Regions from separate parts of the Homo sapiens genome. Here regions 1, 3, 4 and 5 are each linked to region 2. The links are contacts of gene promoters, found by promoter capture Hi-C in blood cells and fetal thymus (Javierre and others, 2016). All regions are on one chromosome and are shown on one strand. The core of a region is centred on a gene start or on the middle of the fragment in contact, and the rest is flanking DNA. Distances in the headings are between cores, read along the strand shown. Region 1 overlaps MEGF8 (multiple EGF like domains 8). Region 2 holds the start of DEDD2 (death effector domain containing 2). Region 3 holds the start of PRR19 (proline rich 19). Region 4 overlaps POU2F2 (POU class 2 homeobox 2). Region 5 has its middle 7.2 kb from the start of POU2F2-AS2.

The links. The method cuts DNA at HindIII sites, captures the fragments that hold promoters and counts their contacts. A CHiCAGO score of 5 or more calls a contact.
Region 1: a fragment that was not itself captured here is called in contact with the fragment with the promoter of DEDD2 in region 2 in 5 of 17 cell types (neutrophils, fetal thymus, monocytes and 2 more); the score reaches 6.3 in neutrophils.
Region 3: the fragment with the promoter of PRR19 here is called in contact with the fragment with the promoter of DEDD2 in region 2 in 12 of 17 cell types (total CD8 T cells, total B cells, naive CD4 T cells and 9 more); the score reaches 12.0 in total CD8 T cells.
Region 4: a fragment that was not itself captured here is called in contact with the fragment with the promoter of DEDD2 in region 2 in 3 of 17 cell types (total B cells, non-activated CD4 T cells and monocytes); the score reaches 6.0 in total B cells.
Region 5: a contact is called between a fragment that was not itself captured here and the fragment with the promoter of DEDD2 in region 2, in 3 of 17 cell types (monocytes, total B cells and fetal thymus). The highest score is 5.8, in monocytes.

The regions. Positions count from the first base shown.
Region 1 is chr19:42,330,142-42,335,501 of GRCh38, reverse strand. MEGF8 (multiple EGF like domains 8) reads right to left here. Exons shown (of 42, transcript NM_001271938.2): 2 at 1,734-1,897; 3 at 1,289-1,495; 4 at 287-467; 5 at 117-205. Among named protein-coding and RNA genes, the nearest start is that of MEGF8, 7.2 kb to the right of the region's middle. The HindIII fragment of the contact is 2,877 bases long and covers 1,750-4,626 here.
Region 2 is chr19:42,213,469-42,219,109 of GRCh38, reverse strand. It overlaps DEDD2 (death effector domain containing 2), which reads left to right and starts at 1,433. Exons shown (of 5, transcript NM_133328.4): 1 at 1,433-1,478; 2 at 2,065-2,430; 3 at 3,858-3,977. The coding sequence starts at 2,103. RefSeq lists enhancers at 1-197, 198-1,074 and silencers at 1,846-1,945, 1,956-2,015, 2,097-2,302. The HindIII fragment of the contact is 12,709 bases long and covers 1-5,641 here.
Region 3 is chr19:42,300,882-42,307,017 of GRCh38, reverse strand. PRR19 (proline rich 19) reads right to left here and starts at 4,886. Exons shown (of 3, transcript NM_199285.3): 1 at 4,515-4,886. PAFAH1B3 (platelet activating factor acetylhydrolase 1b catalytic subunit 3) reads left to right here and starts at 4,394. Exons shown (of 5, transcript NM_002573.4): 1 at 4,394-4,786; 2 at 4,979-5,068. The coding sequence starts at 4,709. RefSeq lists a silencer at 4,280-4,499 and enhancers at 4,053-4,707, 4,660-4,789, 4,870-4,919. The HindIII fragment of the contact is 26,667 bases long and covers 1,381-6,136 here.
Region 4 is chr19:42,088,782-42,094,751 of GRCh38, reverse strand. POU2F2 (POU class 2 homeobox 2) reads left to right here. Exons shown (of 15, transcript NM_001394376.1): 12 at 857-923; 13 at 2,482-2,683; 14 at 2,812-2,885; 15 at 3,161-5,970. The coding sequence ends at 3,495. Among named protein-coding and RNA genes, the nearest start is that of ZNF574, 16 kb to the right of the region's middle. The HindIII fragment of the contact is 4,433 bases long and covers 902-5,334 here.
Region 5 is chr19:42,142,612-42,147,963 of GRCh38, reverse strand. It overlaps a transcript of POU2F2 not described here. Among named protein-coding and RNA genes, the nearest start is that of POU2F2-AS2, 7.2 kb to the left of the region's middle. The HindIII fragment of the contact is 2,171 bases long and covers 174-2,344 here.

The sequences.
Region 1 (5,360 bases), core at 1,939-4,438, 110 kb before region 2:
CTATATCAAGCTGCAGGAACTGTGGGAGCACTAGGTGATAGGGGATCATTCCGGGGGTCCCCGGCTGGGTCTGATTGAGTGGAAAGGCTCCTCCAGGGCAGAGGAGGGGTCCATACCGGGGCAGGACTCAGGTCCCAAGACTCCCAGGTGTTGGCGGAGAAGTTGTATAGGACGAGGTCACCCAGGGCATTGTTGAGGTCCTGGCCTGTGGAGGGGTGGATAGTCTCATGCCCTGGCCATAGGCTGCCGGGCCTCCAGATCCCAGATACTCGCCCCATCTGCTCACCTCCGAAAACTGCCAGCAGCCCTGGTGGGGACAGGAAGGCGCCAGCTGCCCCAATACGGGCAGAGAAGGCAGGGTCCCTGGCACTCACGTTGTGCCACCACCCAGCCCCCTGGTTCTCCCACAGGTGCAGGTCACAGGCACGTCCCAAGAAGCCAGGCTCACAGCGGCATGGTCCCAGGGGCTGCGGGAAAGGAGACATAAAGGCAGAGATAAGAGAGGGAGAGACAAGGACAGAGAGACAAAGGAGACACAGAGAGGAAAAGAGGCAGAATGAGACAGACAGGGCACAAAGGGAGAGAGAAAGAGACAGACAGGAAGGGAGAGGATGGAAAAGGAAAGAGAGAGAGAGAAAGGGAGACAGAGAGAGACAGGAAGAGGGGAAAGGCAAACTGTCAGACAGAAACAAGAGACAAAGAGAAACAATCAGAAGGAAGCAGACAGACGGAAAAAAGAAGACCAACAGAAAAAGGAAAAGATGCACAGAGAAAAAGGAGAAAAGACAGAAAGACGGCAGGCTGGGAGAATACAGACAGCGTAGTTGACATTCAGCCTGGACTGAAAGAGCTCAGATCTGGGGAGGTCAAGGCGGGGAGGGCTCAAAGCGCAATCCAGATTGAAAGCTGGATGTACACAGCTTCGGCGTAAGGTCAGTGGTGCGAGGCTGGAAGTCATGGCAGGGGTCCAAGGCCACACAGAGTGGCTGGATGGGAGGACAGATTTGGGCCTGGCTGGAGGAAGGAGGGTGGTGTTCACAGATGAGAGTGGGGTATAGATGAGAGTGGGATATCCTCAGCAGGGGAGGCCCTGCAGGTGAAGGTGGGGTGGGGTTGGAGTAACAGGTGAGGGGCAAGCTCTGGAAGGAGAGGGAAGTGGGTGTCACGGAGGAGGGTGGGGTGGTGGGGGGAGTTTCATGCAGGAGCAAGGTCAGACCTAGGAGATGGGCGTGGAGGCTGCGCTCACAGATCAGGGCCCCAGGGGAAACAGGGCTGGGGACCGGCTCACCGAGGCGCAGGTGCCGTGGCTGCCACAGTAGGCTGAGCACTCCTGCAGGCCACAGTCAGGACCCCCCCAGCCCGGCTCGCAGGCACACACACCCGGTGGCTGGCACTGCCCGTGGCTCTGGCAGCCACCCGGGCACAGGGAGAAGCGGAATGAGGCGTTAAAGCCCAGCAGGTTGTAGTTGGCATCACTGAAGAGGTGCAGCAGCATCTGCGGGCACAAGGTGTGCTGGGTAAGGTGGGCAGGGCCTGGGGATTGTCCTGGGAGGGTGGCCCACTCCTGCCCCCTTCCACCCTGGGGGACCCAGAGCCTCATCTCCTTCCTTTGCCTCTCTCCACCTTCCCTTGTCCCTGTGCTCTGCTCTTGGATGCCCTCTTACTGACTCTCTGTCCCTCCTTTCTTCTTCCATTTCCCTCGGTGTATCTGCCACGGCCCCATCCCCACTAACCTTGCCTGAGGAAGCTTCGATGGGCGGAGGTCGGGTGCTCCCACTTAGACTGGCAAGCAGCGGCCCTCGCGGGGAGTCACCGTCATACACGAACAGGTAGTCATACGTGCACTCTGTGTCCAGGAAAAGGAAGTCCAGCAGGATCCGGTGCTGGGGGCTTGGGGCTGGGAGGTGAGCACAGAGGGACCAAGCTCTAAAGCGGACCTTCTCCCCACACCTCCCTGCAGCCTCCCACAATTGTACACCAAACCCTGATCCAGGTGATGCTGGGGGCTCAAGAATGAGTCAGACCTGGGCCCCGCCTTGAAGGGGCCCCCAGTCTCATAACCTAGGGCAGTCAAGGGCTGTGACAGCCAGAGGGACAGGAGCCCAGAGAAAGAATCATAATATTCCAGACCTCTAGAAAGGTCACCTGAGATCAGAATGAACACTCCCACCATTCAGATGGGAAAATTAAGTACAGAGAAAACCCCATCCCAGTGGCCACACAGAGCAGAATCCAGTGTTCCTGATGCCTCTCTCTTCCTGTCCATGCCTGAGTTTCAGACATGTCCAGGCTGGAGGGTCAAGGTCATAATCCCAGTGAGAAGAGCACCTCCGTGACACCACCCCTGGCCCACGCTGAATAGAGCTGCAAGAGAAGAGTCCAGCTTCTTCCCCCAGAACAGAGGCCTAACCTTGGAGCGGCATAGTTCCCCTCTGTCCCCATCCAGAGTCTCACCTCTGCTTATTGTGATGGTTACAAGCACAAACTCTGGAACCAGACTGCCTGAGCTTATGTCTTGGCTCTGCCACCAAATAGCTACCAGCTGTGTGATCTTGGCCAAGTAACCCACCCCCTCTGGATCGGTCTCCTCATCTCTAAAGTGGGATATAGTGGTACTGTGGTGGAATCAAACTTATAGGCCACTCCTGCCATTGAAAGTTAATTCCCTGCCTCTCGTATCTGGGAAGAGCCTTAGTGACTTGCTTGACCAATAAAAAAACAGCAGAAATTCTGAAACTTCCAAGGCTAGATCATAAGAAGACTTGTACTTTTCACCTGGGCCTCGTAGAATGCTCCTTCTCAGAACACAGCTGTCATGATAGGAAAAGCCAAAGCCGGCTGGGCACGGTGGCTCACACCTGTAATCCCAGCACTTTGAGAGGCCAAGGCAGGCGGATCACGAGGACAGGAGTTTGAGACCAGCCTAGCCAACATGGCGAAACCCCGTCTCTACTAAAAATACAAAAATTAGCTGGGCATGGTGGCGGGTGCCTGTAATCCCAGCTACTTGGGAGGCTGAGGCAGGAGAATTGCTTGAACCTGGGAGGCAGAGGTTGCAGTGAGCCGAGATTGTGCCATTGCACTCTAGCCTGGGGGACAAGAGCGAGACTTCGTCTCAAAAAAAAAAACAAAGAAAAGCCAAAGCCACAAGAAAAGGCCACACACAGGCATTCCGGCTGACAGTCCCAACTGAGCTTCCAGCTGACAGCCAGCATCAACTGCCAGCCCTGGGAGGGACCTTCCTGGATGTCCAGCCAAGGTGAACATTCAGCTGACTGCAGCCCCAGCTGACATCTGACTGCAACCTCATGAGGAGCAATAATGCACACGAAATGGTGACAACAGAGTGGGGTGGGTGGCTCACGCCTGTAATCCCAGCACTTTTGAGAGGCCAGGGCAGGTGGATCACCTGAGGTCAGGAGTTCCAGAACAGCCTGGCCAACATGGTGAAACCCTGTCTCTTACTAAAAAAAAATACAAAAATTAGCCAGGCATGGTGGTGCAAGTCCCAGCTACTCAGGAGGCTGAGGCAGGAGAATTGCTTGAACCCGGGAGGCAGAGGTTGCAGTGAGCCAAGATTGCACCACTGCACTCCAGCCTGGGCGACAGAGGGGACTCAAAAAAAAAAAAGAGGCTGGGTGCCGTGGGTCACGCCTATAATCCCAGCACTTTGGGAGGCCAAGGTGGGTGGATCGCTTGAGGTCAAGAGTTCGAGACCAGCCTGGCCAACATGGTGAAACCCCGTCTCTACTAAAAATACAAAAAATTAGCTGGATATGGTGGCACATGCTTGTAATCCCAGCTATTTGGGAGGCTGAGGCAGGAGAATTCTTGAACCCGGGAGGCAGAGGTTACAGTGAGCTGAGATCATGCCATTGCACTCCAGCCTGGGCGACAAGAGTGAAACTCTGTTTCAAAAAAAAAAAAAAGAAATGTTGACAATGGGGCCCACATATCGTGGAGAGTGCCACTACCCCTAACACTGTCACTGTCTTATTCTCTGCCAGTCCTAGTTCAGGTAGCCTCTCTCATTCCACATCCCACATGAGAAGCCTTCTGAACAGGCAGCTCAGGGGAGTCCTCTGGGTGAGGGAAATTAGGAGGCCTAGGCTCTGGCTCTGGCTCTGGCTCTGCCCATGACCAGCTGGAGGACCCTGGGCCAGCCCTTTCCCCCATGACCCTCAGTGTGCCTATCTGGATCCTGGAGACACTCAGCCACCACTGCCAATGGCTGGGTGATCCTGGGCCAGTTCCATGGGCTCTCTGAGCCTTAGTTTCCATGACTGTAAAATGGGGATAATTCCCCCCACCCACAAAGGCTGGGGTGAACATTCAACGAGGTGATGACTCCAGCCTGCCAGCTTAGAGCCAGAGTGTGCCCTGGCTGCCCGGCCTCATCCTGTCTCACCAGAACCACTGATCCAACCTCCTTCTTCCCCTGACATGAGTCTCTGATCTTCCCAACTCAACATCTGGCCCCGTCCCTCCCCTGCCCCAAAGCCCTGCATGGCTCCCTACCACCCTAGGAGAAAGTCCAGGTCCCTAACCTGCTGTTCAGACCCTCGCTTTGTCTCAAATCACCCCACTGCTTACAGCTCTAATGGGAGCTGGGCCTTTGTACAAGCTTCTCCCTCTGTCTGCAACATATTATCCCTTCCCACCACCAGGCCTCTTCCTGATGCCCCCTAGCTGGGTTAGATGCCCCCTCTCCAGGGTTCTCACATCCCATTATAACCTTCATTCCTCTGGGCCAGGAACATCTATGTCCAGGTCTGTCTCCCTGCAGCCTACAAGGCCCATAGAGCAGGGCCTGGATGTGGACCTAATTCCCTCTGCAGCATTGCCCAGACCCGGGCTTGGCAAAGGCTCAGGAAATGCTGGATGATGAAATGAAGAAATACATAAAAGACAGAATACTAAAGCTGGAAGCTCTCCCTCAGGCTCTAACCAGAGCCCCCAAGACATCAGACACAGACCCCACCCATGCTTTGGGGAATGCAGAAGAACCATTCAGCACGGCCACACAACCAGACCTCCCAGAATCTTACCAGCCTCAACCAAACTATAAAGCTCTGTTTCTGGAATCACAAGTACATCTTTGTTAAGTGCCTGCTGGAGGCCAGCTCACCATCTGCCTCCCCAAGTTCTTCCCTAAGTTGAAGGTCTTCTGTTTCCACCCAACCCCCATACCACTCCAGACAGAAATCTGATCCCAAACTCCCTCCTGCTCAAAAGCAGGATGCCTCTTATCCATGAGGATGTTATAAGGACTAGGACTGGGCTGGGCGTGGTGGCTCACGTCTGTAATCCCAGGGCAGATCATTTGAGGCCAGGAGTTTGAGACCAGCCTGGCCAACATA
Region 2 (5,641 bases), core at 184-2,683:
TGGTCTCGAACTCCCGACCTCAGGTGATCCGCCCGCCTCGGCCTCCCAAAGTGCTGGGAATGCAGGCGTGAGCCACCGCACCTGGCGTTTGTTTGTTTCTTGAGACAAAGTCTCGCCCTGTGGCCCAGGCTGGAGTGCAGTGGCACTATCTCTGCTTACTGCTCCCTGGTTCAAGAGATTCTCTTGTCTCAGCCTCCCAAGTAGTTGGGATTTCAGGCGCGTGCCACCACATCCGGCTAAGAACAGACAGGGTTTCATCATGTTGGCCAGGCTGGTCTCGAACTCCTGGCCTCGTGTGATCCGCCCACCTCGGCTTCTCAAAGTGCTGGGATTACAGACGTGAGCTACCGCGCGCAGCCGATTCTTTTGAATTCACTGCTACAGCTCAGGCAGAGCCAGTACTGGGCCAGTGCTAGGCAGGACCCAGATCTCCCGACTCCCAAGAGGAGTTAATTGCGGGGGTGGGAAGAGGTCCAGGGAGGGGACTTGTCTCAAGTACATGCAGGTCCTGACCTTGAGTCACCTAAGTGGGGGGCGTGGCGACCGTCACACCCAAGGCCCCGCGGTAAGGGGACACGCATACACCACAGCCTAGACTCCCTGACAGACCCTCTCTAGTTGTTGCAAGTTAGGGAGCGGGTATCTGGGCGACCCTGGAGGGCAGAGATTGGAAGGGGTTACGGAGGGGCCGTTTTGGCTCTGGGTGGAGACATCTGACTGTGATGGGGGTCGTGATGGACGCCATCGAGATGTACACAGTCGGAATGGAGGGTTCTGTTGCCGCTTGGAAGGAGGTATCCGTCCTGAACGTGAGATGAGGGAATTCTGGTTTTGATCAGGGGAAGGAACTTATAGACTGCGGGGGTGGTGGTGGGGGGGCGGGATTTCCATTTGGGATCACGAGAGAGCACAGTTGAGATGTAGATCCCTGGTTGTCACTAGAAGTGAGGGACAATCTAATGGAGGAGTGCCCAGGACCAGATCATATAAGGCCTGGGAGTTTACTGGGAGACGGGAAAGTAGTGATTGTGTTACTTTGCCACGGGCAACTAGGGGCAGTGGTGATGTGGGCGTCTAGCTCGTGATCAGGAGGGGGCTGTAGTTTATGAGATGAGTAGTTACAACTACTCGTGACGTGGCGCTACATGGCCCCGGTGGCTTGAGTCACGGGCAGGAAGTAGGGACCTGGAACCGGGTACCAGATACAGCCCAAGAGGCGGCGTGCTCTCGCTCTGCGCAAGCGCAGCACTCGCGAACCAAGATGCTTCGGTTGGGGGCAGGTCAAGCGGCCCAGGAAGGGCGGGGCTTGGAGGCCTCGTTCTGCGCATGCGCCGAAGGGGCGTGGCGGTCGCACCTGCGCGAGTTGGGGGAAGGAGGAGGGGCGAGGTGACGCAGGCGTAATAATAGAGAAGGTGCCAGAAAGATCCAAAACAAGTGGCTGCGGCCGTCGCCCAGGAGTCATCGGACGCCAGAATCTGGTGAGGATCCAGAGAGGCCTAATGGTGACTGGTGGCGGGTAGACAGGACCACCTGGGCTCTGGGGAGCGGGCGGGGCCGCCCTTGCAGGGCGAGGGGGTCGGGTTCGGACGGTACCACCTGTGTGGAGCAAAGGGGCTGCCTGGGTCGCTCCTCTGTGTAGGGGGCAGAGGGTCACTTTCGGGAGGTACCACTTGCGTAGAGCCGGGGGACTCATCAGACGGTACCGCTGGACGGAGAAAAGGGGCTCGTCTGGGCAGTCCTACCCAGAGTCAGGGGCAGTCAGCAGGGAGCCCCGGGGTGGGCCCCGAGGCTTGTTTGGGCCGCATCGTTTGGTCAGGTCCGGAGGCGAGCTCCGAACGTAGCACGGTGGTGGGGGCAGAAGCCGAGCGGGCTCCGGCGTCCCGACCTGTTCTTAGGGGACCTCGGGCGGGACCATTCCCTCCCGGGGGAGGGGGAGGCCGAGGCGGTTGGGGGTGCGGGAGCGGCCCTGCCCGGCGCGATTGGGCGGGGGAGACGCGCTGGCGGTGTGGGGTTCGGGCCTCCGCGTCGCTGACCACTGCCCCCTCCCCGCTGTGTGGGTTCTAGGCCGGGTTCTGAGCTTGTTCCGCCTCCCTCCCCCGGGAATGGCGCTATCCGGGTCGACCCCGGCCCCGTGCTGGGAGGAGGATGAGTGCCTGGACTACTACGGGATGCTGTCGCTTCACCGTATGTTCGAGGTGGTGGGCGGGCAACTGACCGAGTGCGAGCTGGAGCTCCTGGCCTTTCTGCTGGATGAGGCTCCTGGCGCCGCCGGAGGCTTAGCCCGGGCCCGCAGCGGCCTAGAGCTCCTGCTGGAGCTGGAGCGCCGCGGGCAGTGCGACGAGAGCAACCTGCGGCTGCTGGGGCAACTCCTGCGCGTGCTGGCCCGCCACGACCTGCTGCCGCACCTGGCGCGCAAGCGGCGCCGGCCAGGTACGGTTGAATGGGAGGGTGTCACACTTCCTGGGAGGAAAGGGCCTGGCTCCCGCTGGGCCTCCCTGGTGCCCTGATACGGACAGTGCCATATCAGGCAGCTTATGTCCCATTCTGCTACTCTCTCTTCCCACAATATCAATGAGCAACATAAGAGGAAGAAAGCATGGCTTTGGGAATTTGGCCACATCAGTGATGATGATTTTGGCCACTGTTTACGGAGGGCTTGTTTCATGCCAGGCACAGCTGTCAGCCCTTCATATGAACTAGTGCCTTATAGTCTCCCAGTAATCTCACAAGGAAGTCCTGTTACTGTCTTCACTGTAACCAAGAAAATAACAAGTTCAGAGAAGTTAAGCAGTTTGCACGTATAATAACAATCCTGTTTGCTGGGCCTAGGAGGGATACAGGATGATGGAGCTGACAAGGTGTTTGTTCCATGAAGTTTAAGTTTAGTGGGGGCAATCAGATAATAAGAGAACTTATTTTTAGACGCTGTTGTAGGAAGACTAAAAGTAATGGAATAGAGAGAGTCAGGAGAGCAGCAAGGTGAAGGGAGGCTTTGCCCTGAGGCTGCACTGCCAGCCATGCATAGACCCCAGGGGAGAAAATCCCAGGGAGCATCCAAGGCCTGAGGTGGGAATGAGTTTGGCATCATCAGAGGCCAGTGTGGCAGGAGCAGAGGGGACCCAAGCTAGGGAAGAGAGGGAGGTAAGAAGTTATGTCATGAAGGGGCTTGCAGAGAACGTAGCTGGGAAGTGTGGGAGCCAGGATTCAAACCTAGCCAACTTGTCCCCAGAGTTGATGCCCTTAATCCTTGTGAAGGAAGTGCTCCTGGAGGATAGCAGCCTTCACATGAGAAGCTGGGAGGGGTTCAGGCTGCCGGTAGCCGTGTGCATGAATAGACCAAGCCTTTGTCTGGGTTACTAAAGGGGCAGTGGCTAGTTTGGGGAGGGGGGATTATGGCCTTCCCTGACCCAGAGTAAGCCCACAGGATTTAGATAAGCAGGAGAAGGACAGCTCTAGGGAAGAGCTGACAGCATTTTTGGATATCTATGTCTGAAGATCACGCTCTAGAAGAGAAGATTTGGGGAGCCTGCACAGAGGCCTGCTTACTCCTTGGGGAGAGCTGGGGGCAGTTGATGCCAGGGCAAAGGGCCATTACAGGGACCCTTACCATGACTATCAACAGAATAACCTTGACAGTTTGAGCTGCCGTAGACGTGGGTTAGATTGCCCCAAGTCGTGATAAGTTCTCTCTCTTAGGAGGCATCTGAGCAACCTCTGCAGGAGGTGTTTGAGAATGAGTGGGTATTTGGGCTCTGACTACTGGGGAACTTAGGCACCTCGTGGTGCAGGCATTCTTCCAGGGGTGGGAATTAGGGCCAGGAGGCTGAATGCTTCTTCCTGTTCTTCTCTTCCTCCAGTGTCTCCAGAACGCTATAGCTATGGCACCTCCAGCTCTTCAAAGAGGACAGAGGGTAGCTGCCGTCGCCGTCGGCAGTCAAGCAGTTCTGCAAATTCTCAGCAGGGTCAGTGGGAGACAGGTGAGCCCAGCTGGGTGGGTGTAATGGCAGCATCCCTCTTTTCCTTATGAATTGTGCCCATCAAGGAAGGGGCCTGAGGGGTTATTCTGTCTCATTTTCACTGTGTGTGTGTGTGTGTGTGTGTGTGTGTGTTTATTGCTACAGATACTCTGTTCTGAAGCAACATACAGAATTGTTGCACATAGTTTCGTGTTTCGTTTAAATGGCATTACATTGTGGGTATTACTCTGCACCTGGCTGTCTTTGCTAGATGTGTCTGAGATTTATTCATGCTGAGTATCTCTAATTGTATTATTTTAATTGCCATGCCCCAATTAACTTATTTATTCTCACCACCCCCAGTTTTTGTTTTTTTCTGTTTGGCTTTTTCAAGATAGGGGCTTGGTCTGTCACCCAGGCTGGAGTGCAGTGATGAAATCATAGCTCTCTGCGGCCTTGAACTCCTGGGCTCAAGCTGTCCTTCCACCTCAGCCTCTCAAGTAACTAGAACTACAGGGGTATGCCACCATGCCTGGCTAATTTTTTCATCCTTTATAGAGGTGTGGTCTCCCCCTTGTTGTCCAGGCTGGTCTTGAACTCCTAGCCTCAAGCAGTCCTCCCACCTCAGCCTCCCAAAGTGCTGGATTACAGGCATGAGCCATCATGCCAGCCACCTCTAGTTGTTGTTGTTGTTTTGAGGCAGAATCTCATTCTGTCACTCAGGCTTCGGTGCAGTGGTGCAATCTCGGCTCACTGCAACCTCTGCCACCCAGATTCAAGCAATTCTCCTGCCTCAGCCTCCCAAGTAGCTGGAACTACAGGCGCATGACACCATGCCTGGCTAATTTTTTTGTATTTTTAGTAGAGATGAGGTTTCACCATGTTGCCCAAGCTGGTCTCGAACTCCTGGCCTCAAGAGATCTGCCCACCTGGGCCTCCGAAAGTGTTGGGATTACAGGCTTGAGCCACTGCGCCCTGGCCACCCCTCTTTTTATTATGTGAAATTTCAAACATACAAGTTGAAAGATTAGTACAGTTAACATCTTCCACTTAGGTTCAATAATTGTTAAGATTTTGCTACTTTTGCTTTATGTGTATACGTAATTCTGGATTTTTTTGTTGAACCCTTTGAAAGTAAATTACAGACATCAGGATGCTTTACCCCTAAATTAGGCATCCGTGGAGAATAAGGATATTCTCCTGTACCACTTTAAGACTATTATACCTAAGAAAATAAACACGAATTCTCTGACATTCTAATGGTCCATTTTCAAAAATCCCCAGACTGTGGGACCGTTCAGAATCTATTCATAGTTGAGTTGGTATGCATTCAGTTGTTATGTCTCCTGCTATAGCACAGAAACTGCCCCTACACCCCATACCTTTTTCTTTTTCCTGTAACATTGATTTTTTCACCCTAGCAGGCCGGTTGTTTTGTAGAATGTCCTGATTGTTTCTTTATCTGTCTGTTTTTTTCCTGATGGAGTTATGTAACTCGTCCCTCTTTCCCTTACATTTTTTGTTAAATGGGAATTGTGTCTGAGGCTTGGTTAGATTCAGTTTATACATCTTTAGCAGGAATAATCCTTGGTTGCTGCCATCTAGTTCATATTGGAGTACATCTCCAGGCATGTACGGCCTGGCTTTTCCGATGTGGGAAAGTTTGGTCACTTGGTTAAGGGGAT
Region 3 (6,136 bases), core at 3,637-6,136, 84 kb before region 2:
TGGCTTCTTTTCCGCGGTGACCCCAGCTCTCGAAGTCACCTGGCGCTGTTCCGGGCCTCGGGCTCCCCCACACGCATGCGCGTGCCCTTTCCATGCCCTTTGGCTTCGTGGCTCTGAGAGGACGGAAACCTAGCGGCGCGTGCCAGGGAAGCGCCGGTTATAGCCCCTCCCCTCCCAGCCTCAATTTCAGAAATCTCCCTTTCTTGGTCTCAGCACCTCCCAGCCCTCAATTGGCTGTGAGGTTCACTAGGTCCGCCCCCTTCCTGAATGCTGATTGGTTCAGATAGCTATCAGCGGTCTTTCGAGGGCTAGTTGAGACCAGGCGTGCCAAAGGGAAGAAGGGTCATGGTAGCCCCCATGCACAGCTGTCCCCCAAGCAGCCACAGACATAATCCCTAGAAAACTTATACAGTTGGCCGGGCGTGGTGGCTCACGTCTGTAATCCCAGCACTTTGGGAGGCAGAGGCAGGAGGCTGGCTTGAGCCCAAGAGTTCAAGACCACCCTGGACAACATAGGGAGACCCTGACTACAAAAAATAAATTAGCTTTGGGCGTGGTGGCTCACGCCTGTAATCCCAGCACTTTGGGAGGCCGAGGTGGGCGGATCACGAGGTCAGGAGATCAAGACCATCCTGGCTAACACGGTGAAACCCCGTCTCTACTAAAAATACAAAAAATTAGCCGGGCGTGGTGGCGGGCGCCTGTAGTCCTAACTACTCGGGAGGCTGAGGCAGGAGAATGGCGTGAACCCGGGAGGCGGAGCTTGCAGTGAGCCGAGATGCATTTCAGCCTGGGCGACAGAGCGAGACTCCGTCTCTAAATAAATAAATAAGCTGGGCGCAGTGGCTCTTGCCTGTGGGCCCAGCTACTTGGGAGGCTGATGCAGGAGGATCACTTAAGCCTAGGAGGTGGAGGCAGCAGTGAGCCATGATCACGCCCGCCTGAGGGAGACGGCAAGACCCTGTAAAAGAACAAAAATTAGGCCACATGCATTGGCTCACGACTGTATATTCAGCGACTCAGCAGGCTGGGGCAGGAGAATTGCTTGAACCTGGGAAGTGGAGGATGCAGTGAGCCGAGATCACACCACTGCATTCCAGCCTGGGTGACAGAGAAAGACTCCATCTCAAAAAAAAGTTAGTGTAGTGTTGTGATTCATAGCTAGGCTTGGTTTAAATGCCCAAAATGGCACAACTGGGCTGTGTGACCTTGGAAATGTTTGTAACTGGTCAGACTTAGTTTTCTGACCTGTAAAATTGGGTTGGTAATAAAACTACCTTCCTCATTTGGTTGCTAGAAGGATAAACTAGACCAATATGTCTAACTTGAAATGGGCCTGGTGAATGAAGAATGCCTGGAAGCTTTGTTTCTCACTAAGCTTTGCTTCAGGAACTGCTCCAACTTATCCTCTAAGACTTTATTTTTAAAAATTTTTTTCTCGGTTGGGTATGGTGGCTCACGCCTGTAATCCCAGCACTTTGGGAGGCCAAGGCAGGTAGATCACGAGGTCAGGAGATCGAGACCATCCTGGCTAACACAGTGAAACCTCTTCTCTATTAAAAATACAAAAAATTAGCCGGGCGTGGTGGCACACGCCTGTAGTCCCAGCTACTCAGGAGGCTGAGGCAGGAGAATCGCTTGAACCTGGGAGGCAGAGGTTGCAGTGAGCCGAGATCGCGCCATTGCAGTCCAGCCTAGGCGACAGAGCGAGACTCTATCAAAAAAAAAAAAAATTCTCTCTTATATCACTGACTTGAAGGCATAATTAAGACTTTTTTCTTTTCTTTTCTTTTCTTTCCTTTTCTTTTTGAGATGGAATTTAAATCTGTCACTGAGGCTGGAGTGCAGTGGCACAGTCTGAACTCACTGCAACCTCCACCTCCCGGGTTCAAGCGATTCTCCTGCCTCAGCCTCCCAGGTAGCTGGGACTACAGGCGCAGACCACCTTGCCCAGCTAATCTTTGTATTTTTTAATAGAGATGGGGTTTTGCTATGTTGGTCAGACTGGTCTTGAACTCCTGACGCCAAGTGATCTGCCCACCTCAGCCTCCCAAAGTGCTGGGATTATAGGAGTGAGCCACCGTGCCTAGCTGATTATGACTTCTTTTTTGGAGACAGGGACTCACTCTGTCACCCAACCTGGAGTGCAGTGACACCATCATGGGCCACTGCCACCTCATCTCCCAGGCTCAAGCTATCCTCCTGCCTCAGCCTCCCAACTAACTGGGACTACAGGCACTTGCCCTTTTTTTTTTTTTTTTTTTTTTTGAGACGGCGTCTCGCTCTGTCTCCCAGGCTGAAGTGCACTGGTGCCATCTCGGCTCACTGCAAGCTCTGCCTCCCAGGTTCACGCTATTCTCCTGCCTCAGCCTCCCAAGTAGCTGGGACAACAGGCGCCTGCCACCACGCCCCGCTAATTTTTTGTATTTTTAGTAGAGACGGGGTTTCACCGTGTTAGCCAGGATGGTCTCGATCCTGACCTCGTGATCTGCCCACCTCGGCCTCCCAAAGTGCTGGGATTACAGGCGTGAGCCACCGCGCCCAGCCTTTTTTTTTTTTTTTTTTTAGACAGGGTCTCACTGTGTTACCCAGGCTGGTCTCAAACTTCTGGGTTCAAGCGATCCTCGCACCTCAGCCTCCCCAGTAGCTGGGACTACAGGCATGCATCACTGCACCTGGCTCCCTCAGACTTTATTTGTTTGTTTATTTTTGTAATTAAGACAGAGTCTCGCTGTGTCACCCAAGCTGGGCCACTGTTGCCCAGGCTGGGCTGCAGTGGCGCGATCTCAGCTCACTGCAACCTCTGCCTCCCAGACTCAAGCAATTGTCCTGCCTCAGCCTTCCCAAGTAGCTGGGACTACGGGCGTGTGCTGCCATGCCTAGCTAATTTTTTTTTTTTTTTTGTATATTTAGTAGACACGTGGTTTCGCCATGTTGGCCAGGCTGGTTGACCTCAAGTGATCCGACCATGTCAGCCTCCCAAAGTGCTGGGATTACAGGCATGAGCCTCCATGCTGGCCTCCCTCAGACTTTAAAATCAAGCTATTCCACGATATTCCCCAAACCTAATAAGAAAGTGATTACCTGTGTCTTTTCTTTCTGCTTGCCCATTCTTCATTATCTTTCAGACCCAGCTGAGATACTACTCCTAGGAAACCCATAGTCCTCAGAGTCCTTCTCCTCTTCCTCCCCAGAGGTCCCTGTCTCTCCCTCAAACACAACTTTGACACCCCTACACCTCTGTGTCTGGATCTGTCTCCCTAAACACATTGGGACAAGGTCAGGAGCTGACCCACTCATTTACTACTCATTCAGCAAGCACTTGTGGAATAACCACTGTGTGCCCGGCCCAGTTCCAGGAAAGTGGATTGAAAACATAAACACAATGAATAACACTCATCTCTGTCTCAGTATCAATCCACCTCGAAGGAATGAATACATGGGAAGGTCCCACCTGGAGTGAGGCTACAAGAACATGACCAGGACGTTTAGCAGGGAGTGAGCCCCCCACCTGGTCCCAGAGAAGAGGGAGATCTGAGAAGACACTGAGGTCTGAGATTAATTTGGGGCAGCGTTGGGGGAGAGGCGCGACCCTAGGTGGCCTTGGCTATGGATGTAGGTTTCAGAGCTCAGACATACCCAGTTGGCCTGTGGGTTTAGAGAGAGTGTAGAGGCTGCAGATCTGCAAGATGATCTGCCGGAGGGACGCCAGACTGGACCTGAGCCCTGGAGGCGTCTCTAATTTCCTTTCTCTTTCTGCACCTTCTTCTACCCTCCAAGCAGGTCCTATGGTGTCTTGAATGCAAAGATATGTAGTTTATATGTTATGCCACGCGCGCGCACACACACACGGTGTTTTGAGTAGGGGTCCTGTGATGTCTTGAATGCAAAGATATGTACTTTAGATTTCAACACACACACACACACACACACACACACACACACACACACACCCACGGTGTTTTGAGTAGGGGAAGCCCACGAGTAGATAGGCTCACTAAAGCCCTGGCGCGGCCTTAGAGTGGCTCCTTAGAAGGGAGCCTCGAATTTTCACATTTTGTCATCTTCCTTTTCTGTCCCCCACATCAGTAGAAAATAGGAGCGTCCCCCCCAGCCAGGTGCATTCGAGCCACCCCTTCAAGGGAATATAAGAATGGACTCGTCCACTCGCTCCCCTCCCCCCACCACGTGAATGGGTCACCCCCCCCCCCGCAACAGTAGGTGGTCCCTTCCGCACATTTCACTCTGTACAGCAAATGGTTTCTTCCCATTTGCTAGACAGAGGGCTAGATTTTCCCCGCCCACTCTCGACTCTTCAGGTAGTTCGCCCCTCCCCGTGACCGGTGGGTGGTTTCTCCCTCCTCCCCGCCTCGGGAGCTGGATGGTCTCGCCTCTCCCTCCCCCCACCCCGTGCCGGGTGCGCGGCCTGGGAGTCAGCGGCCCGAGCGGGAAGCGCCGGGCGAGCCCACTGTGCGGCCGTCGTGGGGGAAGCGAAGGTTCCTGATTCCACCTACCTCCTAAGTGAAGGCTTCCGTCCCTGGAGAGGAGGCGGCGCCCTGTATCGGCCTTCGTCCTCCGCGGGTGTGCTAGCGTTGGGACGGTCCTTTGTTGCCGCGAGGGGTAGGAGTGGGCGTGGCGGAGCCAGCTCCGTTCGGAACACTCCCGGGCCGACCCGACTCGCTCATCCTGCAGGAGCTGCGGCGCCAAGATGAGTGGAGAGGAGAACCCAGCCAGCAAGCCCACGCCGGTGCAGGACGTACAGGGCGACGGGCGCTGGATGTCCCTGGTGAGCGTTCCCACCTGGGATATTGAGGAGTCCGGGGGCGCGGGGGGTGGCTCAGGAGAACGGCTGGTTCGTGCCACTCTCACTACCTGATTGGGAAACTGAGGGCAGTTGAGGAGGCGCTGCCTAAGGGAGCAGGGCGGGGCGGGCCCTGGAGCGTGCATGCCATTGACTCCCTCTCGCGCGCTCCCGCAGCACCATCGGTTCGTGGCTGACAGCAAAGATAAGGAACCCGAAGTCGTCTTCATCGGGGACTCCTTGGTCCAGCTCATGCACCAGTGCGAGGTGAGGGCAGTCCCTCTCCCCCTGCCCCATCCAGCCCTGTGTCCATGCTGACACATCTGGACCAGAACCCAGGCCAGGTGAGGTATTATGAGAGTACCCAGATTGGCCTCAGGCAGCCCGAGGCTCTGAGAATCTTGGTGTAAGGTGCAACATTCTATTGAGAAAGAAATGTATGCCTTGGTTTTATCAGATTGGATTTGTGTATAATGTACTAAGACCTAAAATGAGGCTTTCCTGCCATAGGCTTGCCTAAAGTGAGGCTCTTTCTTGTTTGCTTTAAGTAGTGCGCAGCCCTGTTGGGTTTACACAAAGCTATAGTCACTTTACAGGAAGCGAAGGGCAACTCTAATGGCACTCCACAAAGAGGACTCAATCATAATAATATCTTTCCACAAAGCATGTCCAACTGTAATGGGTTTCATCAAAATAAGTTTCAACTGTAATGCCATTGATTCAATGCATGGCTCAAGCAGACTGGATTTTCATGAAGTGAGTCTTGCTTCTATGGGGCTTGGTTTGTTTTGTTGGTTGGTTGGTTGGTTGGTTGGTTTTTGAGACAGGGTCTTGCTCTGTCACCCAGGCTGGCGTGCAGTGGTATGATCTCTGTTCACTGCAACCTCTGCCTCCTGGGCTCAAGTGATCCTCCCACCTTAGTCTCCGAGTAGCTGGGACTACAGGTGCACATCACCATGCACCTGGCTAATTTTTGTAATTTTTGTAGAGATGGGGTTTTGCCCTGTTGCGCAGGTTGGTCTTGAACTCCTGGGCTCAAGCAGTCCGCCCACCTCAGCATGAGCAACAGAGCCTGGGGCTTGGTTTAAAGTGAGAGACTCTAGGCAGGGTGTGGTGGCTTACGCCTGTAATCCCAGCACTTTGGGAGGCCAAGGCAGGCGGATGACCTGAGGCCAGGAGTTCGAGACCACCCTGGCCAACATGGCGAAATCCTGTCTCTACTAAAAATACAAAAATTAGCTGGGCATGGTGGCACATGCCTATAGTCCCAGCTACTTGGCAGGCTGAGGCAGGAGAATCGCCAGAACCTGGGAAGCAGAGATTGCAATGAGCCGA
Region 4 (5,970 bases), core at 1,869-4,368, 130 kb after region 2:
GTTCTAAAGGACAAGGGAGAGTTAGCCAGCCACAAGAAGGCAAAGAGCCTTCCTGGACCAGTGTGTACTAAGGCCTAGAAGCCAGGGTGTGCCCAGCCCAATTTGAGAAACTCCAGTGCAATTTAGTGTGGTTGGTGCTGCAGTTTATATGAATGAGGTTGGGGAAGGAGTGGGGGCATGTACCCCAAGTTTTACAGTGAAGAGCTGGAACTTGAACCATGGGCAGTGAGGAGGTAAGGAGTGGTTTTGAGCTGGGGAAGGAGAGAGTCACATTTAGTGAGGTTTCTGGGGCTGATGCAAAGGTGAGACTGGAGGTGGGGTGGCCAAGAAGGAAGCTGATGGTCCCAGAAAATCAAGTAATATGACATCTCAACACCCCGATGCAAAGATATGCATCCATTTAGCCTCGCACTTTAGATCTGCTCTTTCCCTGCCTGGGTCACTTTGAACAGTCTCTCCTGCATTGCTTGCCAACCCCACTGGTAAAAGGGTGGTGTTTGCTTGTCCAGGGAAAAGAGTTTTAGTTTTGCAGAACCAACAATATCAGGAGCATGTGGAGCAGCCACTCTTCCGGTGCAGTCACTTCAGACAGGACACAACCCTGCAAAGACTAGCCAGATGGGGCGGTGTCAGAAGAGAGGTGGGGAGTGTTCTCAATGGAGAATTAGCCCTTCCTGCTTGTGGCTCAGGATCAGCTAGGGCAAGTGTGAAGAAAGCATGTGGAATAATACAAATGCAGCATTGTGCCAAAGCCCCCTGCCCCCATCCTGGGACGGAGGAGTGGGGTCCTACAGGGAGCATCACGGGGGCTGCTGGCAGACAGTGGCTAACCACACCTCCTTTCTTCTCTCCTCAGGTCACACCCCAAGGGGGCGCGGGGACCTTACCGTTGTCCCAAGCTTCCAGCAGTCTGAGCACAACAGGTCAGGGAGGGCAGAAAATGGTGAGGGGGGACTGGGAGGATGTGGCACAGGCTGGAGCCTGAGGTTCCCAAGTGGCTCTGGGTGTCCATGGGCCTCAAGACTGGGCCTGGGGAGTGTGGGTGGGGGAATGGGAGAGACAGTGGGAAGAGGGTAGGACTCACCCCTCCTCTGCAGGAGCAACTCAGCTTTAATCTGCTTCACGATTTCATATGAGAAAAGCATGGGCCTGGTAAAAGGTGAGGCACTTGAGTTTTGTGCCTGGCCTCTGTCATTTTTAAGCTGTGTGAATTCAAGCACTTATTTTATCCTTCTAAGCCTCAGTTTTTATTAAATTATTATGAATGTGTAAAACATAAAAAGATATAAATACATGTATGTAAGAGTGTATGTGTATGTACATATACACACATACATGCATACATACATAGTCTTGTATCCAGAGTTCCCCTCCCTCTTCCTGGGACACGGTAGGTTTATATGTATGGTTATACACCATATATATAATAATAATATAAAATTCGCTGGGTGTGGTGGCTTATGCCTATAATCCCTGCTCTTTGGGAGGCCAAGGCATGTGGATCACCTGAGGTCAGGAGTTCGAGACCAGCCTGGCCAACATGGTAAGCCCTGTCTCTACTAAAAATACAAAAATTAGCTGGGCGTGGTGGCGTGTGTCTGTAATCCCAGCTACTCGGGAGGCTGAGGCAGGAGAATCACTTGAATCCGGGAGGAGGAGGTTGCAGTGAACTGAGATCACACCACTGCACTCTAGCCTGGTGACAGAGTGAGATTCCATCTCAAAAAAAAAAAAAAAAAAAATATATATATATATATATATATACACACACACATAATATATATATGCATAATATATATACACATAATATATATACACATAAAACAACACGTTGCCCCTCCCCAGGCTAGAAAATAGTAAGTGGAGATTTATAAAGTAGTAAGTGCTTGCCTGGCACTGTACTAAACTCTTTCTAAACTGCATTGACTGACTTAATTCTCAAACTCATTTTATGAGATAGGGTCTATTATTATCCCCATTTTCCAGACAAGGGATCTGAAGGTCAGAGAGGTTAAGGCACTCACCCAAGGGCACCACTGGGATGAGACAGAGCCAGGAGTTTCTACCCCAGCAGTCTGGCTGAGTCTGGGCCCTCAGCCCCTGCCAGGTTGCCCATCCCTCAGATGTGGCAGTGTGCCTGGCACCCTTCGCCCCTCCCCAGCCCCTAGAGGGAGCCATAGGGCTTTGTCTCCTGGGCACCCCCGTTTCTAGTCGGTAAAAAAGTGGTTCAGGGCAGGGAGTGTAGAGTGCCAGGGCTCAGCAGGAAGCACCTGCTCTGACTTCCATTGTTATGACAGGGGTCACCATGGCAGAGGCACAGGGAAATGACTCTGGGAAGAGAGGGCAGGGAGGTCTAAGGCTGTTCTGACTGAGGAGATGCTGCGTGAGCTGGGCGGGAGGACAAGTAGGAGCTGACCCCAGGTTCCTCAGTGGGGGACGAGTGGAAGCTGAAGACCCCATCTTTCTGTCTCTCTCTGGCAGTTACTACCTTATCCTCAGCTGTGGGGACGCTCCACCCCAGCCGGACAGCTGGAGGGGGTGGGGGCGGGGGCGGGGCTGCGCCCCCCCTCAATTCCATCCCCTCTGTCACTCCCCCACCCCCGGCCACCACCAACAGCACAAACCCCAGCCCTCAAGGCAGCCACTCGGCTATCGGCTTGTCAGGCCTGAACCCCAGCACGGGGTAAGTGGGTGCACGTGGGAAGCTGTGGGGAGAAGCAGGGTCGCTGCTGCTTCTAGGGTGGGGAGCGGCACCCCAGTTATGTTGGCAGGTCCCTGCCCCTGCTAATGCCTCTGCTTTGCCTCTTGCAGAAGCACAATGGTGGGGTTGAGCTCCGGGCTGAGTCCAGCCCTCATGAGCAACAACCCTTTGGCCACTATCCAAGGTGCGTGCTGCCTCATGTCACACCCATCGTCACCAGCCCTATCCTCTGGGGCCTCGAGCCCTGCCATTGCTGCTCCAGCCATGCCATCCTGCCCCTGCTCACTGCATTGCTTGCCTCTTCATACCCATCTCACCTTTGGGGAAGGTGTGAGGGGTGCTGATGGGGGTCAGTGGGACCGATGGGGAGATGGGGGGCACTCTGGGCAGGATGCTGGAAGGCAAAGGTCTCCCCTGGCCCGGCATGCCCTTAGCCCAGCCTCTCTCTCTCCCCGCCAGCCCTGGCCTCTGGTGGAACCCTGCCCCTTACCAGCCTTGATGGCAGCGGGAATCTGGTGCTGGGGGCAGCCGGTGCAGCCCCGGGGAGCCCTGGCCTGGTGACCTCGCCGCTCTTCTTGAATCATGCTGGGCTGCCCCTGCTCAGCACCCCGCCTGGTGTGGGCCTGGTCTCAGCAGCGGCTGCGGCTGTGGCAGCCTCCATCTCCAGCAAGTCTCCTGGCCTCTCCTCCTCATCCTCTTCATCCTCATCCTCCTCCTCCTCCACTTGCAGCGAGACGGCAGCACAGACCCCTGGAGGTCCAGGGGGGCCCGAGGCAGGGTCCAAACCTGAGTGAGGGCCAGCCATGCCTCCCCTCCCATTCCTCTGGTCCCTGCCTTGGTCCCTTGCCTGGGAAGAGGGCGAGGAGGCCAGTGGTGGGGACGCAGAGGGTCCTCAGAGCAGGAGTGACAAGGGAGGAAAGACCAAAAAAACAACCAACCAAAAAAAAAAAAAAAAAGGAAAGAAACTAACCAACAAAAGAGAAAACCAAAAATAATCACAACAGAAACCAGCTGCCCCAAAGGAACCAGAGGTGAAAAACAAACAAAAAAAAACCAAAAACAAACCAAAAAAAAAAAAAACCCACAAAATCAAACAAACCAAAAAACCAGTCGCGAGCCAGACCTCAGCGTGCTCACCCTCACTGCTACGACGCCAAATAAAAACCCCAGCCAGGGGCGGAGAAGCCTCCAGCAGGTCAGACCTCATGCCACCGAGCCCTGGCTGTGGGACCAACCCCCAACCCTGCCTCCCCCGTGGGGGCTACAGAAGGAAAAAGAGAAGATGCCAGCTTCCTAATCCCAGCCCCCAGCCCTGGGCCAGCGAAGACAGGGCACAGCCTGGGCAGATGGGCTGGGGCTTAGCACCACCCACCAAATGTTCTTTTCCAGAAGGTGAAAGAGAAAGGGCCTGAACAACCTTACACCAAATATTCAGTAGCTTCATCCAAAGGATGTACAGAATTTTTAGCATTGTGCTCAACAGAATGTGTCCCTACCATGTGTCCCCTTCTCCCCTGGCCCCCAGCTCTCCCCACCTGGGCAGGGGGTCTTGCTTTAACCTCCTCCCTCCCCCCAGCAGGGGAGAGTTCAAGGGAAGGCCTGCGGACAACTTTTCATCCCCTGTTCCTCCCTCTTTTCCCCTTTGAAGGGTGGGCTAGGCCATTTTGCCAAGTTCTAGCTCTCACAAGTCCCTCCTCAACCCTGTCACCCTCCTCTGCTCTGGAACTGACTCCCTCCCCAGCCTATGGGAAGGTGGAAATTTCAGGCAAGAGGGGATGAAGACATTCAGTTGAGGGCATTCAGTTGTCTTTTTCCATCCTGTCTGTTTCCCTGAAAAAAAAAAAAATTCATATTCCAGTGCCTATCCGTGGGATCCTTCACGTTCTTTGACATTAACCAGAAACCAAAAAGAGAACTCACCTCGCTTTTCCCACCCTGTGCCCCTCTGGTACTGGCGAATGCCTCTCCCTCCCCCCACATGCACGCACGCACACACCCCAGTGGTGGGGTTCCTCGAGATGGCATCCCCATCAGGGTCCATGTGGTGGGGACAGTGCCACAGCCTGTGGTCCCCATCTGAGAGGGCGCGGTGGTGGCCACCACTCCCACAAGACCTCCACAACTCTTGGCTGGACCCTGTGTTTGACCAGCCCCGGACACGTCTCCACTGACGACGGACAGAGGAGAGACACCACTGGGAGCCACCCTGCCCTCCTGCTATTGTGGAGGCCAACAAAGTTTTGAACCGAAAACCAAAAAAACAGAAACAAACAAACAATAAATTTAAACTAGAAAAAAAATTTATATATATATATAAACATATATATATATATATATATAAAAGGGAAAGAAGATGAGGACTCTTCAAGAATAAGATGGAACCGCGAGGCGGAGCCAAGCCCCTGCACCGGTGGTCCAGGCCCTTGTTCCCCAAGGCGGATGGAAGGACGGATGCTTCTTTCTCTTCACAAATACCTCATGGACGTTGTCTTTGGGAAAGCCGGAGGGGGCGGCTGGGGCAGGGCCTGTCCCTCGGCCAGGGCAGATGGAAGCGGGTGGGCGGGGCTGAGAGAGGGTATCAGGGACAGGGGTGAAGAGCCCCAAACTCCCCTCCCAAATCAACTGAAAAAGCTTTAAAAAAAGACAGGAAAAAAAGGAGTAAGAAAGCAAAAAGAACAGATGAAGGAAAACTTAACAACTTTTGGGTGGTTTGATTCCTCCTTTGATTTCTTTTTCGGTTCTCTTTTGTCTGACCTCTCTCCTCCCCTCCTTCCTCTCTCCTCCCCTCCTTCCTCTCTCCTCTCCTCCTTCCTGTCTCCTCTCTCTCCCTTTGCTCTCCTCTCTTCTCTCTCAATCTTGTTCTTTCTGTGTCTCTCCTCAAACCAAAGTGTTGCAGTGAAGGACACGAGCCATTGAAATCAGGGTGGGGCCTGACAGCCGTAGTGTGGCCCCTGCCCCTTGTTGGGCAGGAGCAGAGAGAGAGGAGAGCCCTGAGACCGCAGGGCTTTGGCCTGGGCAGCTTCCACTTTCTGCCGGACACTCTGAGGAGAGGCAGATGGAGCTCCAGGCCTCAGCGTTCTCTTTTTTCCTTGTCTCCCTTCTCCCACCCGGGAAATGAAACTGTTGGGCTGGGCGACGGAGGCAGCAGAGACTCGGCCATTGCAGGGGCCTCTGGGTGCCTTGTCCGGGCAGTGGTGAAGTAGCCGCCCCTCCCACCCCGGCACGATGGGGCCTGGCACCTCGTCTACCCAACCTCACCGGAATGTAAG
Region 5 (5,352 bases), core at 10-2,509, 71 kb after region 2:
GGGGCTTCTCCTGTCTGAGCCTTATTTCCTCCTCTGGGTCATAACTACTACCTCATAGGGGTCAGGGAAAGGGGAAATACAAAACACAATGTCACCTGATAAATGGCCATGCCCTTTCCTGTTGCTCTTCTCTCTGACTCCTGCCCATCCTCTAGGTTCCAGGTCTTTAAGCTTTTGTATTTGCAGAGGATTTTTTCCCAACGCACTGTCAATATTCATTGACTATTTGGATCCTCACCACTATCTTGTAAAGGAGGAATTATTATCTTGATTTTACAGAAGTGGAAACTGAGGCTTCGAAGACTTAAGTACTCTGCCTCAGGTGCTTGTCCCTATGCAGGATCCATTTAAGTCATTCATTCCACCTGTCTGTTGAGCACCCACTATGTGCCCAGCGTTTGTTGGGCACTAAAGATGTAGCAGGCAGCAGAACCAGCATGGTGTATTTTCATGGAGTTGACAACTAGAGAAGATGCAGATCTTTAAGTGTAAACATCAATCAAATACAAAATCAGGAACTGATAAGTCTATCCCAAAGAATAAACTAGAATAGGGAGCCAGGAGAGAGGGCAAGTTATTTAAGCCAAACCTTAAAAGACGAGTAGGATTTAATGGGGCAAAGAGCACAGGAACAGTGTTCCAGGCAGAGGGAATGGCACATGCGAAGGGCCTGGGGTTGCAAAGAGCATGGTTTAAAGAACAGAGAGGAGACAGCATGGCTTGGAGCAGGGTAGGCAAAGAGGTGAGTGATGGGGGAAGAGATGAGAGGTGTCAGCAGGGGTGAGATGACATAGGACTTTATAGGTTGGGTTAAGGTGATTGAGTTTTATTCCCAAATGCATGGGAAGCTCCTGGAGAATCTTAAGCAAGGGAGTGACACCACCTGGTTACGTTTTAGAAAGACCCCCTTTGGGGGCCAAGGGGAGACGAGACTATCTGAGACAGGCATGGAAGAAGGGACACCTTCGGGGAGGAGACCACTGAAGTCACTCAGGCCAGAGGTGGTGGTGGCCTGGACTGCAGTGGGAGGAGTGGAGGAATCAGACAGCGCTTTTGGAATTGGTGACAATATCAAGGCTCAAAGAAGTGGAGAGCAGAGAGTGAGAGTCTGACCCTTCCAAACCTGAGCTTTTCCTCTTACCAGGTCAGGTGCTACTTTTTCCCTAGGAGGCTGCAGGAAGCCTCCATGAGGCAGATGCCTGGGTTGCTTATATTTAATGTTCTCCATGTGAACCCTAAAGTGCCTGGTTGGCACTGAGAAGTTTCTTGCCAGACCGGGATCTTGCACAGATGTGAATGGGGGGGCCTTCCCTTAGGAGACTCCACAGAGGAGGTGAGCTCTGAGTAAGGTGGTGTAGGGAGCGAGTAGATTTGAAGGTGTTGGCTCCCCTCACAGCTGGTCTTTCTGTATGAGCTCGGAGAATCTGCTAGGGCCCCACAAAGTGGAGCTGGGGAGCATTGTGCAATCTGCATCCCAGAATTGTTGTGAATCAAGGTGGGCAGGTGATGTGAAGGCACTCAGTGAATGGTTCATATTGGCAGAAGGCCATAACTGGGGACGGGGATGGGAGATACATGGATGTCTCAGACAGCAAAGCCCAGGTCCAAGGCCAGTGTTTCTGCTGAGCCAATGGGACAGGGTGGGCAAGGGTTTGAGGGAGAGGAAGAGAACAGTGGATGGCAATGTGGACTTTGGAGTCCGGTTTCCTGGGTGCCAATCCTGGTTCCATCTGTGTCTCCAGCCAAGTGATTTAACTTTGCTGGGCATCAGTGTTTTCCTCTGTAAAATGGGGATGTTAACAATGCTTTTTTGTAGAGTATTGAGAAGATTCAGTGAGAAAATGCTTCTAAATATTAATAGTAGGTGGAGGGCTTCTCTTTAACTTGTCTAAAGCAGAACTCTTTTTTTTCTTTTTTTTTTTTTTTTTTTTGAGACGGAGTCTCGCTCTGTCACCCAGGCTGGAGTGCAGTGGCGCGATCTCGGCTCATTGCAAGCTCCACCTCCTGGGAAGCAGAACTCTTTTTTTTTTGAGACAGAGTCTCGCTTTGTCACCCAGGCTGGAGTGCAGTGGCGCAATCTCAGCTCACTGCAACCTCCGCCTCCCGGGTTTAAGTGATTCTTCTGCCTCAGCCTCCCGAGTAGCTGGGATTACAGGTGTGTGCCACCATGCCCAGCTAATTTTGGTATTTTTAGTAGAGACGGATTTCACTGTGTTGGTCAGGCTGGTCTCGAACTCCTGACCTCAAGCAATCCACCTGCCTTGGCCTCCCAGAGTGCTGGGATTACAGGCATGAGCCACTGCACCCAGCCTAAAGCAGAACTCTTGATTCCCTCTCCCAAGCTTTTCCAAGAGCTTGTGTCCATCTCAGTAAATGGTTGTCACAACAACAACCTAGACTTCTTCCTTGATCCCTCACTTTCCTTCAAATGTCCAGAGCTCAGAGTTTGCTTCAACGATGACAGGCACTGTGTCTCATGCGATCTGGGCTAATACAGTTCCGTTAAGTTAAACTCCTCTGAATCAATGTAGAGCACCTTCTGTAGGCAGGGCCCTCTGTGGATGCTGCTCAGGGTCCGCACAGTTCTGAGAGAGGCACAGAGAGGCTGAGTGGTTTGCTCAAAGTTGCACAGCTAGGACTCAGCAGTCTTTGCAGAGGCTGAGAGAGGCCAAGGCAGCTTCTAATTCTTGAGCCTCCTAGTGTACTAAGAACGAAGGAATACTGAAATGGATTTACAGACCTGTGCTTTTAGCAATGACAACAATAAAATGCCACGTTAACTGATATTTATAAGGTCATTTCAGGATTTATTAAAACAAAATGCATACTATCTTACTGGTGGTGTGGTCTGGCAGTGTCATTCAACTATAAAGTAAAAAATACACATTTTGTTTTAATTTCATCCCCTCAGGAATGTGACACATGGGCCAAGTGACACATAGGCCACACCTAGCCCCACAGCTGGGACTTAACTACCTATTTATGTGACTCTAAAGTTGACACCTTTTCAGCCATCCTCAGTTGCTTTTGCAGAGATGCAAGAGGCCCAGGACTTCACAGACTTTGGAGGAAGAGAAATGTGCATGGGATCAGTGTAACAGCAAGGCCTGGGGCAAGGAGAGCTGGGCTCTGGAATTGGCTTGCCCATGACTGAGTCTGGGCAAGTCCTTGCCCTCTCTGACCCGCCTTGGGGTGCTCCTCTGAAAAGGGGGTGGATAATAACAGCCCCTGCTTTAGTGAATTGTTGGGAAGATGCCAAAAGATGATGCAAAGAATACACATAACATATGCCTGCACAGAGCAGGTGCCATGTAGCTGCTCTTGTTACTTAGTAGAATAGTGGGATGGTCTAGGGGCCTGGAGCATCGAGGCTTGAGAGCTCCTCAGGAGCATGGCCAAGCTGAGCCACCCTGTGTCCCTAGCTCCTGGCACAAGGTCTGGCACAGTGGGCCCTCCCTGAAGATGTGGAACTGAATCGTGTGGAAGAGGCGCTTGCCCAGGCTGAGCAGGAGTGGAGCACCAGGGGAGGACAGGGGAACTGAGTGGAGGGCCTGGCCTTTGCCTTCTTCTCCCGCCTTGTGAGGCCAGGTGGGCACTCCCATTAGCTCCCTTTTGCAGGGTGTGGAGGTCATTGCCCCTTTGTCAGCTTCTTCAATAAATCAATACCAAGCACCTCCTGGGTTGCAGGTGCTGGAGACACAGCAGTGAAGAGGACAGACACAGGCTAGTATGATTATTATCATGGTTCTAATCTGAATGGTGAATGTGGGTTCACATTAACTCATTATTAAAAATAAGTAAAACAATAAGTGAATGGATAGAGAAAGAGGGCTCCATCCAGCCCAGTGATGGGAGTACGCTGTGAACCAAGGATTATGATTAATCCAATTTTGTGCACCTGGGATCCTTCTAAAAGACAGGATGAGACATAATGGGACACACATGCTCCCTGTGCTGGCATAAACATTCAGTTTGGGGGAAAAGAGGTAATAAACAAGCACGTGACACGAGGCTTGAAGGTGAGACAGCAAAAAGTGCTAGAAGAAAGTGCAACCTGGTAGAGGACGTAGTGATGAGAAGTGCCATGTGAGACAGGATGTCAAAAGGCCTCTCTGTGGAGGGGGTGTTTAAGTGTAATTCTGGAGTAAGTAAGGGGACGAGCCTTAGGAACACCTGGGGAAGGACTGCACTGGGCAGGAGGAAGGGCAAGAGCAAAAGTCCTGAGGCAAGAAGAAGCGCGGGCGTGGATTGCAGGAACAGAAAGGCAGACAGCTTGGAGGAAGTGAGTGAAGGGGGTGGGGAGAGAGGAGTTGAGGTGGGCAGGGGCCCTTCAGAATGAGGCATCTTGAAGCTGGCTCGCTTTGCTGGCCTTCTCTGTGGCCTCCCAGGCTTGGGTCGTTAGTACCCTGGACAGCGGCCTTGGCCCTCCTGAGCGCTTGCCGTGATGGGCACTCCCTACTGAGCACACAACTTATATTAAGTCTGTTTCTGGGCAGTGAAATGGGGATGGGGAAACAGATGATATTGCAATGATTGGCCCCTGCCCACAGGAAGCACACAGTCATTGGACAAGACGTTAATGTACAGTTTAATGAATTTTTTCTTTTTTTTTGAGGCAGAGTCTTGCTCTTTTGCCCAGGGTGGAGTGCAGCAGCTTGATCTCGGCTCACTGCAACCTCAGCCCCCAGGTTCAAGCCTTAGCCTCCTGAGTAGCTGGGATTACAAGCATGCACTACCACACCCAGCTAATTTTTTGTATTTTTAGCAGAGACAGGATTTCACCATGTTGGCCAGGCTGGTCTCAAACTCCTGGCCTCAAGTGACCCAGCCTCAGTCTCCCAAAGTGCTGAGATTACAGGTGTGAACCACCACCCCTGGCCAGTTTAATGAATCTTGATCGAGTGAACATCTGTGCATTCACCACTTGGGTGGAGATGTCAAAGGCACCCAGAAGCCCCACCCCGTGTGTCCCTTTCCAAACATACTCCTTCCTCTCTGCTGGAGGTAACTACAATTCTCACTTTTGGGATAATCATTTATTTGATTTTCTGCATGTGTATCATTTAATATGTTCTAATTTTAATTAAAAAAATGAGTACAGGCCAGGCACAGTGGCTCATGACTATAACCCCAGCATGTAGGGAGACTGAGGAGGGAGGATCGCTTGAGCCCGGGAGTTCAAGACCAGCCCATGCAACATGTTGAAATCCTGTCTCTACCAAAAAGTACAAAACTTAGCTGGGTGTGGTAGCATGTGCCTTTGGTCCCAGCTACTCAGGAGGCTGAGGTAGGAGGATTGCTTGCTGGGGGGTGGCAGTTGCAGTGAGCTGAGATTGCACCACTGTACTCCAG